Regions from separate parts of the Homo sapiens genome. Here region 1 is linked to region 2. Evidence: promoter capture Hi-C in 16 types of primary human blood cells and fetal thymus (Javierre and others, 2016). All regions are on one chromosome and are shown on one strand. Each heading gives the region's core, a stretch centred on a gene start or on the middle of the fragment in contact. The rest is flanking DNA. Distances are from core to core; before and after follow the strand shown. Region 1 holds the start of MAP4K5 (mitogen-activated protein kinase kinase kinase kinase 5). Region 2 holds the start of RPS29 (ribosomal protein S29).

The links. The method cuts DNA at HindIII sites, captures the fragments that hold promoters and counts their contacts. A CHiCAGO score of 5 or more calls a contact.
Region 1: the fragment with the promoter of MAP4K5 here is called in contact with the fragment with the promoter of RPS29 in region 2 in 1 of 17 cell types (fetal thymus); the score reaches 7.3 in fetal thymus.

The regions. Positions count from the first base shown.
Region 1 is chr14:50,531,319-50,535,979 of GRCh38, forward strand. MAP4K5 (mitogen-activated protein kinase kinase kinase kinase 5) reads right to left here and starts at 1,251. Exons shown (of 33, transcript NM_006575.6): 1 at 1,130-1,251; 2 at 624-840. The coding sequence starts at 731. It also overlaps a transcript of ATL1 not described here. RefSeq lists a silencer at 945-1,574. The HindIII fragment of the contact is 11,447 bases long and covers 1-4,661 here.
Region 2 is chr14:49,584,260-49,589,429 of GRCh38, forward strand. RPS29 (ribosomal protein S29) reads right to left here and starts at 2,121. Exons shown (of 3, transcript NM_001032.5): 1 at 2,026-2,121; 2 at 1,691-1,790. The coding sequence starts at 2,087. It also overlaps RN7SL1. RefSeq lists enhancers at 1-125, 1,152-1,201, 1,800-2,299, 2,172-2,681. The HindIII fragment of the contact is 6,928 bases long and covers 1-3,157 here.

The sequences.
Region 1 (4,661 bases), core at 1-2,500, 950 kb after region 2:
AATCCCTGAAAGGAACCGCTAAAGTAAAACAAAACCCAGCAAGTTAATATCACATTTTTATCGCCAACCAAAAACAAACGATCAAACTTCCACCAGGAAAAGCATCTTTTTATATGGGATAATGCTTGCATAAATGTCACCAATATTAGTTTGCTTACAGTTAAAGCTCAGAGACAGGGTTTCATATGGCTTTTTTAGTCAAACTCATCCATTGAAACAAATTTTTTTAAAAAAATGCAAATGTCTGAATGTCAATATTCTTTCCTGTCTATCTTCCATGAAGCATTTTTCCATGCTAACACTAGAGCATCCTTCGGTGTAATTCCACAAGCAGATTCAAATTCCCTTCAATACCATAAATAAGCCCTATTAAAAAGCCTTTAAACCACAAAAAAAGTGCAACAGCGGTTTGCAACTGTGTGGTTAGTTCTGCCTGTTGGTAGCGATTAGAACAAGCCATGAGTCGAGGGTGCTCAGAACCGAGTAAAAGGGACCCCGGCCGCTTTCTCCCCAAGAGGCAACAATAAAAGCATCCTCCTCTCGCCCCAATACTTCGCAGGAAAGTGGCCCCATTCCCGGGACCCAGTCGACCGCAGGAAAAAAGCACGGCCAGCCTCACTTACCTTATAGACGTCCCCGTAGGTGCCGCTGCCGACCCTCTGGACGAGTTCGTAGTCCTGCTGCGGGTTCCGCCTCAGGATGTCCGCGGCAGGCCGCAGCGGGGCCTCCATCTTCACTTAGGGCCCGGCCCCCGCCAGCTCACCCCGCGGCTCCCGGATTCCCGCTAACAAGCACGAACGGCGCCGCTTCCCAACATGGAGCCTCCGCCCGCAGCTCCGTCTGCACGAGGGACGAGCAAAGGCTGGTTGGCGTCGCAGGCTACGACCCCCAGCGGCCCGCGCCCTCGCGGCCCGGCCCCTTCCCTTCCGTCCCGCCAGGGGCCGTGGAAGAGAAAGGGGCCTGGAAGGGCCCCCGGCGCCCCGTATCCCCGTTCGGTCTGCGGCCCTTCCCCCTCCCCGGCCGCCCGCGAACTGCCCGACGAGGCCTCCCCGCCAGCCGGGGCCCAGGGCCGGCTCCGTACCTAATGGGGGCGGCCCCGTCTTTGTTGAGCGCGGAGCCCGGGACCTACTTCCTAGACCGCACCCGCGTCCTCCTCCCGCGCGCCGGCCGGCAGCTCCGGGTTTGCCGTCGCCGCCGCCGCCACTCAGCCGCTGCACGGCGCGTCCTCTCGGGGGCGGCGGAGGCGCGTACAGTCGCCGCCGCCGCCGCCGCCGCACCACGTTCCCCACCCGGGGCTGCGTCACCGGGAGACACGTTCCCAGCCAGCATGGGTCGGCGCCCAGCGGCCCGCCCGAGCACTCCGGCCGCAGAACCAGAGTGCCGCCCTGAGGCCTGCTGAGAACACAACACCCTCCCGACCGCGCCACCGCGCCCCCCTAGCCGGGCGCGTCCTTGCAGGGCCTGGGCTGTCTCCCTCCCACTCTCAGAAATAAGGCACACGCCTGGGCATTCGTGGGCCAACGGGCCTTGGCTAAACCGTCCCCACATTTGTCAGGTAGGCCTGTAGGGTGACGGGTAGAGGAAGAAGGGCGATGGGAACGTAGCCCTCCAAGTTAAACACGGAAAAGGTACGTTAAGGGCACCGGGCCAGAAGTAACCTGGCAGCGGGGCGCCGGGGAAGGAGGTGGGGGAGTGCCAGGTTAACTAAGTCCCGGCACACCCTACTGCACCTTCCTGTTTTGCAAACCGATCCCGGTGGTACCAGTTTGAGGCTGCACTGCACACCTGCACAACCTGCCTTCTACTTAGTTCTTCTGAGACATTTCTGAAAGTCTGAATTCCTAGGACTGCTCAATGACCTTTGTCCCTGTTGGGCACACGCAGTGTCTCATCGCTGGTATTGCACCTTTAATGAGACCAGGAGTTCCGCAAAAGTAAAACAAAGGGGTCACAGACTGGTTCTGGTTCTACCACTTCCTCAGTATGTGCTCTGGGACAAAACAGCATATTTGGCAACATCTCGGTGTCCTTATCTGCAGCTTGAAGAGGGTAAGATTTTGCATCTGACACCCAGGAAAGTGTTTATAAAGCGTTTTACAGGATAGTAAGGGGGGTTATCGAATATAAGAGGTCTTAAAATACTTAACAATGCACAGCATATATGGAACAGGAGTTCGGGGAAGTAATTTGGCTGATATTTCACAAGCTGTTTTGCAGTTTCAGTTCCAGTCTTGCTCTGAAGGTAGAAATTAAGTTGCCAGTGTTACATTATACTGGCTAAGTTATTTCTAGAGCCTCATAGAGAATTTGAACAGAAAAGCCAGATAACACTCAGCCACTGCATTTAGTGACTGAAACATCATAAAAGAGCAAGTTGGAGATGTTGGCTTGTGGCTTTGAACATCCAATTTTTAATTCTGCTCTTGAGAATTAAAATACTCCTTATTGTTGATAATTGTATAATGTATAATAAGGAGTAATTGACAATACTCCTTATTGTTGATAATTGTATAATGTAGAAATTAAATTCGCACCTTAACAGGACAGGGCATATATGTATTTTCTTGTGCTCCACACACAAAGGGCACTTATTTGGGGAACATAAGTAAGCCCAGACTTACATGCTCCATGGACAAAGCCTATGTGTTTGCTGCATTGAAAAAATTGTTGAAGAACAGTTCCTTCTTTCAAAGATTCTTGGCACTTGTTTTGGTGGGCACATACTTTTGGCTTCGATGACTCAAAATCTCTTCAAATGTTCTATTGGTATCTTAGCACTTGTTTACTGTCATAGATTCATTTGAGATTTTTTTCCTCTGGCCATATAAGCACTGATCCTTTATCTAGTCTGAAATATATTTATTCTTACATGTTTACACTTGCGTTACTCCAGGGAATTTCAGGCAGCACACAGAAAACACTTACTATAAAACAAGATAAAAATAAGTGGGCAAACTAGTATGACGTTAAAGAGAAGGAAAATACGAAACCAGAACAGTGTGACAAATCGGCCAACCAGAGGATTTTATAGTGTTTTTGAGATCAAGAGTAACCAATTGATCAAGAAGAGGCATATATTTTCCTAATGCAAAGACTTCCAAAAATTTTATTTAATGAGCCTTCTTCATAAAGTAGAAACTGAATGCCCAGTTTGAGACGAGGACAAATATCCTGACAATCCTTTAAGCATGTTATTCTTGAAATACAGCATTTAAAATGAATTAGGCAGTGAAATGTTTGAGGTCATAGGCTTCAACAAGACCCTGGAGTGCGGATATTTTATGTTGCCAGTAATGGCAGATCCATATGCTTTGACCATCAACCTAGAGGCAGATAGCATGGAAAAAGTCAAGACTCTATGTGGTGGTTAAAAAGTCGAGACTCTATGTGTCTGCTATAATCATTATTTTACTTGTACTGCAATTCATGCAAAGAGGAAAACATTTGTTTTATACTAACTCCAAAAGAATCTTAAGGATTTTTAAAATACTGGTTGAGTTAATTTTAACAAGATCAGTGAAGTGGGTTGCTTTGTAAAGAAATGCAAATTCAATTTACTTAAATGTACACTGAGTAAATTTAATTTTACATCCTAGACAATTAAGCAAACAATTTCAAGGTTGAAGTTTATGTAATAATATGTTAGTTATGTCATGGTAACTGACCAGAGAGTTTCTTACAAACCACCCAGTTTCATATGACAAGGTATGGAATAAGAATAAATATGGCTTGATAGGTCCTTCATTCCAACCTAATTGTCATGCATTCTTAGTATCTTCATGCTGACACATAAATATTTTTCAGCTTTTACCCTTATCATTATAATATACGATAATGGTTTGCCACATGCTTTGTAATGTACTTCCCTTCTTTGAAAGTTCTTCAGTAAAATGCTGACTGTAATCTGTGGCCTCTAATTTCAGCTCTAACTTTAGCCAAGGCTGAATAAAAAAGAATTGGGAGACATAAAATGCTTTATCTTATATAAAGCTAAGGTTCACAATTTATTATCCAAGACAAAATGGCTAATTAAACCTTCAAGTGTGAAAGGACAGAGCATAAGGACAATAACTTTAGTCTATTGAACATACAGATTTAAGCAATCTGGTAATCTCCTGATTAATCTGCCAACATAAACTAATTTCAACATGTAACTCTATGATTCAGTTGACTGCTCTATAGATCTGTTAAACAGAAATCAATTAAATGTTGGAAGACATTGCCACAATTATGATTTGGATTTTTAAATAATTATTATTAAACTATTGTTTTACTAATTAGGGCCACTTGTCTTTTGAGGCATAAACCATGTTTTCCAAATATAGGGCAATTTTTATATAATTTGTTCTGGATGGCAATAGAACATGTATCTCATTCAGGATTAGTATCAGGTCATTAGGATGAGAGTTTTAAAAAGGAGAGGTGAGGAAGGCAGTCGATATCCCTTTCATCCAGTTTGAATTGATCATCAGATATGTTACTGATATGGTTTGTCTGTGTCCCCACCCAAATCTCATCTTGAATTCCCACGTGTTGTGGGAGGGACCAGGTAGGAGGTAATGAATCATGAGGGCAAGTCTTTCCCATGCTGTTTTCATGATAGTGAATAACTCTCACGAGACCTGATGGTTTTAAAAAGAGGAGTTCCCCTGCACAAGCTC
Region 2 (5,170 bases), core at 871-3,370:
AGGCACCTCGCCTGGCCCAGTTCATCTAGGACACAGAGCTAGGGCGTGGGCCAAGGTCCATTTTCTTACGTATGATATACTACCTCTCAAATTAGGCGAACCTCCTCATTTTAACAAGAAGCATATACTGATGAAGTATTTGCTCAGGGCTGCCAAGCCTGAGTTTAAACGTACTTTCTCTGTCCCTGCTGCACTGCAGTATTCATATTAACAATTTACAACAGACAGGGCGCCGTGGATCACGCCTGTAATCCCAGCACTCTGAGGGGTCAAGGCAGGCCCATCTCCTGAGGTCAGGACCTCAAGACCAGCTTGGCCAACATGGTGAAATCCCATCTCCACAAAATAATAAAAATAGGCCGGGCGTGGTGGCAGACGCCTGTAATCCCAGGTACTAGGGAGGCTGAGACAGGAGAATCGCTTGAATCCGGGAGGGGGAGGCTAGTGAGCTGAGATCACGCCACTGCACTCCAGCCTGGGAAACAGAGGGAGACCCAATTTCAAAACAAAAAAAAAAATTTACATCATTATAGAACAGTACTATCCAATACAAAATAATTGATCAGAAAGCTGGTGATTTTTATCTCAAAGAGCCAATAATAAATTCGTTTTCACCTTAAAAAAAAAAACCCAAACTACTATTTAAAAGATTTTCAGAAGCCAAAAGTTTCACAGTCAAAAGTTTCATATAAACACTAGCTTGACTAAGATGATCAAGAGATAGAAGCACTAAATGGCAGACCATTGTTTGCTGAATCTTAACAATGTCTTTCCGGCCCCAAACTTTAAGTTCATTCCAGTGTATGACGCTTTCAAACATTTTGGGTTGGCCGGGCGCGGTGGCTCACGCCTGTAATCTCAGCACTTTGGGAGGCCGAAGCAGGCGGATCACGAGGTCAGCAGTTCGAGACCAGCCTGACCAACATGGTAAAACCCCGTCTCTACTAAAAATAAAAAAATTAGCCGGACATGGTGGCAGGCGCCTGTAATCCCAGCTATTCAGGAGGCTGAGGCAGGAGAATCGCTTGAACCGGGGAGGCGGAGGTTGCACTGAGCGGAGATCACGCCATCGCACTCCAGGTTGGGTGAGTGCGACTCCGACTCAAAAAAAAAAAAAAAAAAACTTGGGGTCAGCGGTTAATACATATATTTGGTTAGAAAATATCTAGGTACAGCCGCGCGTGGTGGCAAGAGCCTTTAGTCCCAGCTACTCGGGACGCCAAGGCAAGAGGATCGCCTGAGACCAGGAGGAGTTCGAGGCTGCAGTGAGCCGTAACAACGCCACTGCACTTCAACCTGGGCGACAGAGGGAGACCCTATCTCTAAAAAAAAAAAAAAGAGAATAGGTACTTACAAGATTGATAAATGAAACAAATGTAAAACAATTTTAGTGGCTTCTCTAAAGTGAATTTCACCAAACACAATACACGGCACCTAAAACTGGCTAAGCTATCTAGGTAAAAAAGGGAGTAGGAAAGACTAAGTCCTTCACCTTCTCCATTCTATTAATTTGATTGCCCAAACCATCAACACTGTCACCAGCTACCAACTAAAAAAAGAGGAAAAGCTCTTGGTCGAATGCTCAGAATTACCACTCCAGGGAAGATCTGTCCGTTTGTCTTTCGCGGAAAAAATAACCCCCACAACCTTCTCTGCCCAAACAACATGGAGTACGCCTGCAGACGCCTACCTTAATGAAACCGATATCCTTCGCGTACTGACGGAAACACTGGCGGCACATATTGAGGCCATATTTCCGGATCAGACCGTGCCGGTTTGAACAGACACGACTGTAAGAAAAGAGACAGCGGTTTTGCAGGTCATAGAAATTACAAGACTCCGCACTCAGACGGCTACTACCCGCATCCCGGGACTCCCAAGCCACAGTACAGGCCTGTAATGGCGGCACCAGCGACTCCCAGTCGGCGTGCTCCCTCGTGCCGCCCGTGGCCTCCTCTACTTGAGATTTTAAGCAGCCTAGCGCTCCACGGCAACGCTTCCCCAAAATCACAAACTATTTCTCACCAAGAGCGAGAACCCTGGCCGAATTTTCGCGGGTGGCTCCAGTACAGCTGCTGGTGACCCATCTTGCTCTCAGCAGTGCAACGAGGTAAAAGGAAGAAGCTGGCCCACGCATGCGCTCTTCAAATTTTTGAGACAGTTTACCCAGAATGCAGTGCTCAAAGGAAACGCGTGCGCAGTGTGGTCAGGTTGTTTCGCTGGGTGAGTAAAATGAAATCTTAGAGGCGTTGTGGGCTGGCCCAGTTGATGACGTCACCATACCACAGCTTCTAGTGCTATTCTGCGCCGGTATCCGACCGCCGGGCGCGGTGGCGCGTGCCTGTAGTCCCAGCTACTCGGGAGGCTGAGGCTGGAGGATCGCTTGAGTCCAGGAGTTCTGGGCTGTAGTGCGCTATGCCGATCGGGTGTCCGCACTAAGTTCGGCATCAATATGGTGACCTCCCGGGAGCGGGGGACCACCAGGTTGCCTAAGGAGGGGTGAACCGGCCCAGGTCGGAAACGGAGCAGGTCAAAACTCCCGTGCTGATCAGTAGTGGGATCGCGCCTGTGAATAGCCACTGCACTCCAGCCTGGGCAACATAGCGAGACCCCGTCTCTTTTGAACAATAAATACGTTAATTTTGGACTCTCAAGAGATGAATATTCTCATAGTCTTTTTTATTGATTAAACCTTTTACTTTCTTTTAATTAAAACGTTACACTTGGGAAAGGAGTTTTTCCTCGACTCACCAGTGACACCTACTGGAATAAATTTACAAAACAACTTAAAATCAGCTGTAATGATCACGAGTCAACGGTAGGGTTTGCTTTTATTTTGTTAAAGAGAGTACGTTTTCAAATTTATTTTTTTGACACACTCCTCCAAGAAATACACCTACACCATTCCAAAAAAAAATGAGATTCTTTGGCATTTAGTGTATTTGATTCTTAAATGTAATTGGCTGAATGTAAAGTAATAAACAAGTAATGTGCAGTGTATGTTGCTTTGACCAGATAATTTGGTGACAAAACAAGTAATGAAAAGCAAATGCAAAAATGCAAAAAACCAATGTCAATAAACGAATTTCTGCTGAAAGATACCTACATTCCATATGGTCATTTATAATGCCTCCAGATAAAACTGCTCTGAAATCAAAGCTTTAACTAGATTTATAAAATGTAGCACAGGGTGCAACAATTCCAGAAACTTTTACATATAAACTTTTATAAATTGAAATACAACACTTCTTTAAGGTATGTTATGTCAGGGTTCTAGTGGGGTCCCCCTACCCAATCATTAAGTTAGGCATTGTATTATATGATTAAGGAAGGAGGGGAGTCAGAGATTTGTAAACTAGATATAACTTGCTCCTTGCCCTCAAAATTTTCTAATCTGTGGGAAACAGGATTATCTCCAAGACTTCAACATACAACGTTTGTGCACCAACAACATATGTACAGCTAAGGAAAATATTCTGTATTAAATCATGGGTGTGCTCATGAAGTACGAAAGGAGCCAAGAAGAGAAATTAATTCCAGTTCGAGGTACATTTGAGAGACCTTTGAGGTAGACCTTGAAGAATGGGATTTCTACAGGCAGCACTTGACAGAAGGGAATGCCTGGTGAAAGGAAGCGCTTGAGCCAAGGTAAGGTGAACAACTTTGTGTAACTAGAATAGAAGATGGACAAAAGGCCTAGTGATAGGAATGAAAAGGTATTTTATTTTAAAGCCTCATTGGGCAAGATCCAATGTCAAGCTTTTACAACTTTCCTATAATTTATATCAGTCACTAATGTGTGGTTTCCAAAAGCCATTTGCCTCTCAAAAGCTAATCTAACATTTGTCCACACTTTCTTAGGCCTCTTCTAGTTGGTCTCCACAATATTTAAAACATTACAGTGGTTCTGAGATCAATTCCATTAATATTTTTAGTACTCTGATATATAAGCCTTTGGGCCTAAAGAAGTGAATTCATTTAGGAGAGAAAAAAAGACAAATGAGAAGCAATTAGTTGCACTTCAACAATCTTAATCTGAATACTTAAGTAATTCTTAATACTTATTCTAGTCTATACATTATTCTCTTTGATAGAGATATTGCAAAAGTGCAGCTAAGACGTCGTACTTCCTTTCAGTTTTAAGATAATGTGACACCATCTATCCCAAACCATGAAATTATCCATTTCTTTTTCAACAAACTGAGAACACAGCTTTAAAAGTTCATTTTAACTCGGTGTTTATCAAGAGCTTTTATGTTTTGTTTTGTTTTTTTTCCTTTTTTTTTGAGACGGAGTCTCACTCTGTCGCCCAGGCTGGAGTGCAATGGCACCATCTTGGCTAACTGCAACCTGCACCTCCTGGGTTCAAGGGATTCTCCTGCCTCAGCCTCCCGAGTTGCTGAAATTACAGGCACGTGCCACCACACCCGTCTAATTTTTTACATTTTTGGTAGAGATGGGGTTTCACCATGTTGGCTAGGCTGGTCTCGAAGTCCTGACCTCGAGTAATCCACCCACCTCAGCCTCCCAAACTGCTGGGATTACAGGAGTGAGCCACCACGCCCGGCCTAAGAGCTTTTATCTTAATCCTGTAGTCTTCTTACAGTTTCTGAGTCCTTTTTTTTTTTTTTTTTTTTTTTTTTGAGACGGAGTCTGGAGTCTCGCTCTGTGACCCAGGCTGGAGTGTAGTGGTGCGATCTCGGCCCACTGCAAGCTCCGCCTCCCGGGTTCACGCCATTCTCCTGCCTCAGCCTCCCGAGTAGCTGGGACTACAGCGCCCGCCACCATGCCCGGCTAATTTCTTTTTGTATTTTTAGTAGAGACAGGGTTTCACCCTGTTAGCCAGGATGGTCTCGATCTCCTGACCTCATGATCCGCCCGCCTCGACCTCCCAAAGTGCTGGGATTACAGGCGTGAGCCATCTTAGTTCTCTTTTATACATGGGTTTGAAATGCTTCTTCTTTTAGAACACATTTTCCTTTAATAGGATATTTATTGGGTTTGGGTTCTTTGTTTTTTAAAAAATGTACAATGAAGTGCAAAGAAAAAGAAAAAAAAAAGTGCCATAATGTCCTTGCCCAGATAACCCTACTAATATTTTTCTTTTGAAAAACTAAAAGTAATATACATGTAAGATCGAAGCATTCTAACACTGCAAAGTATAGATCTT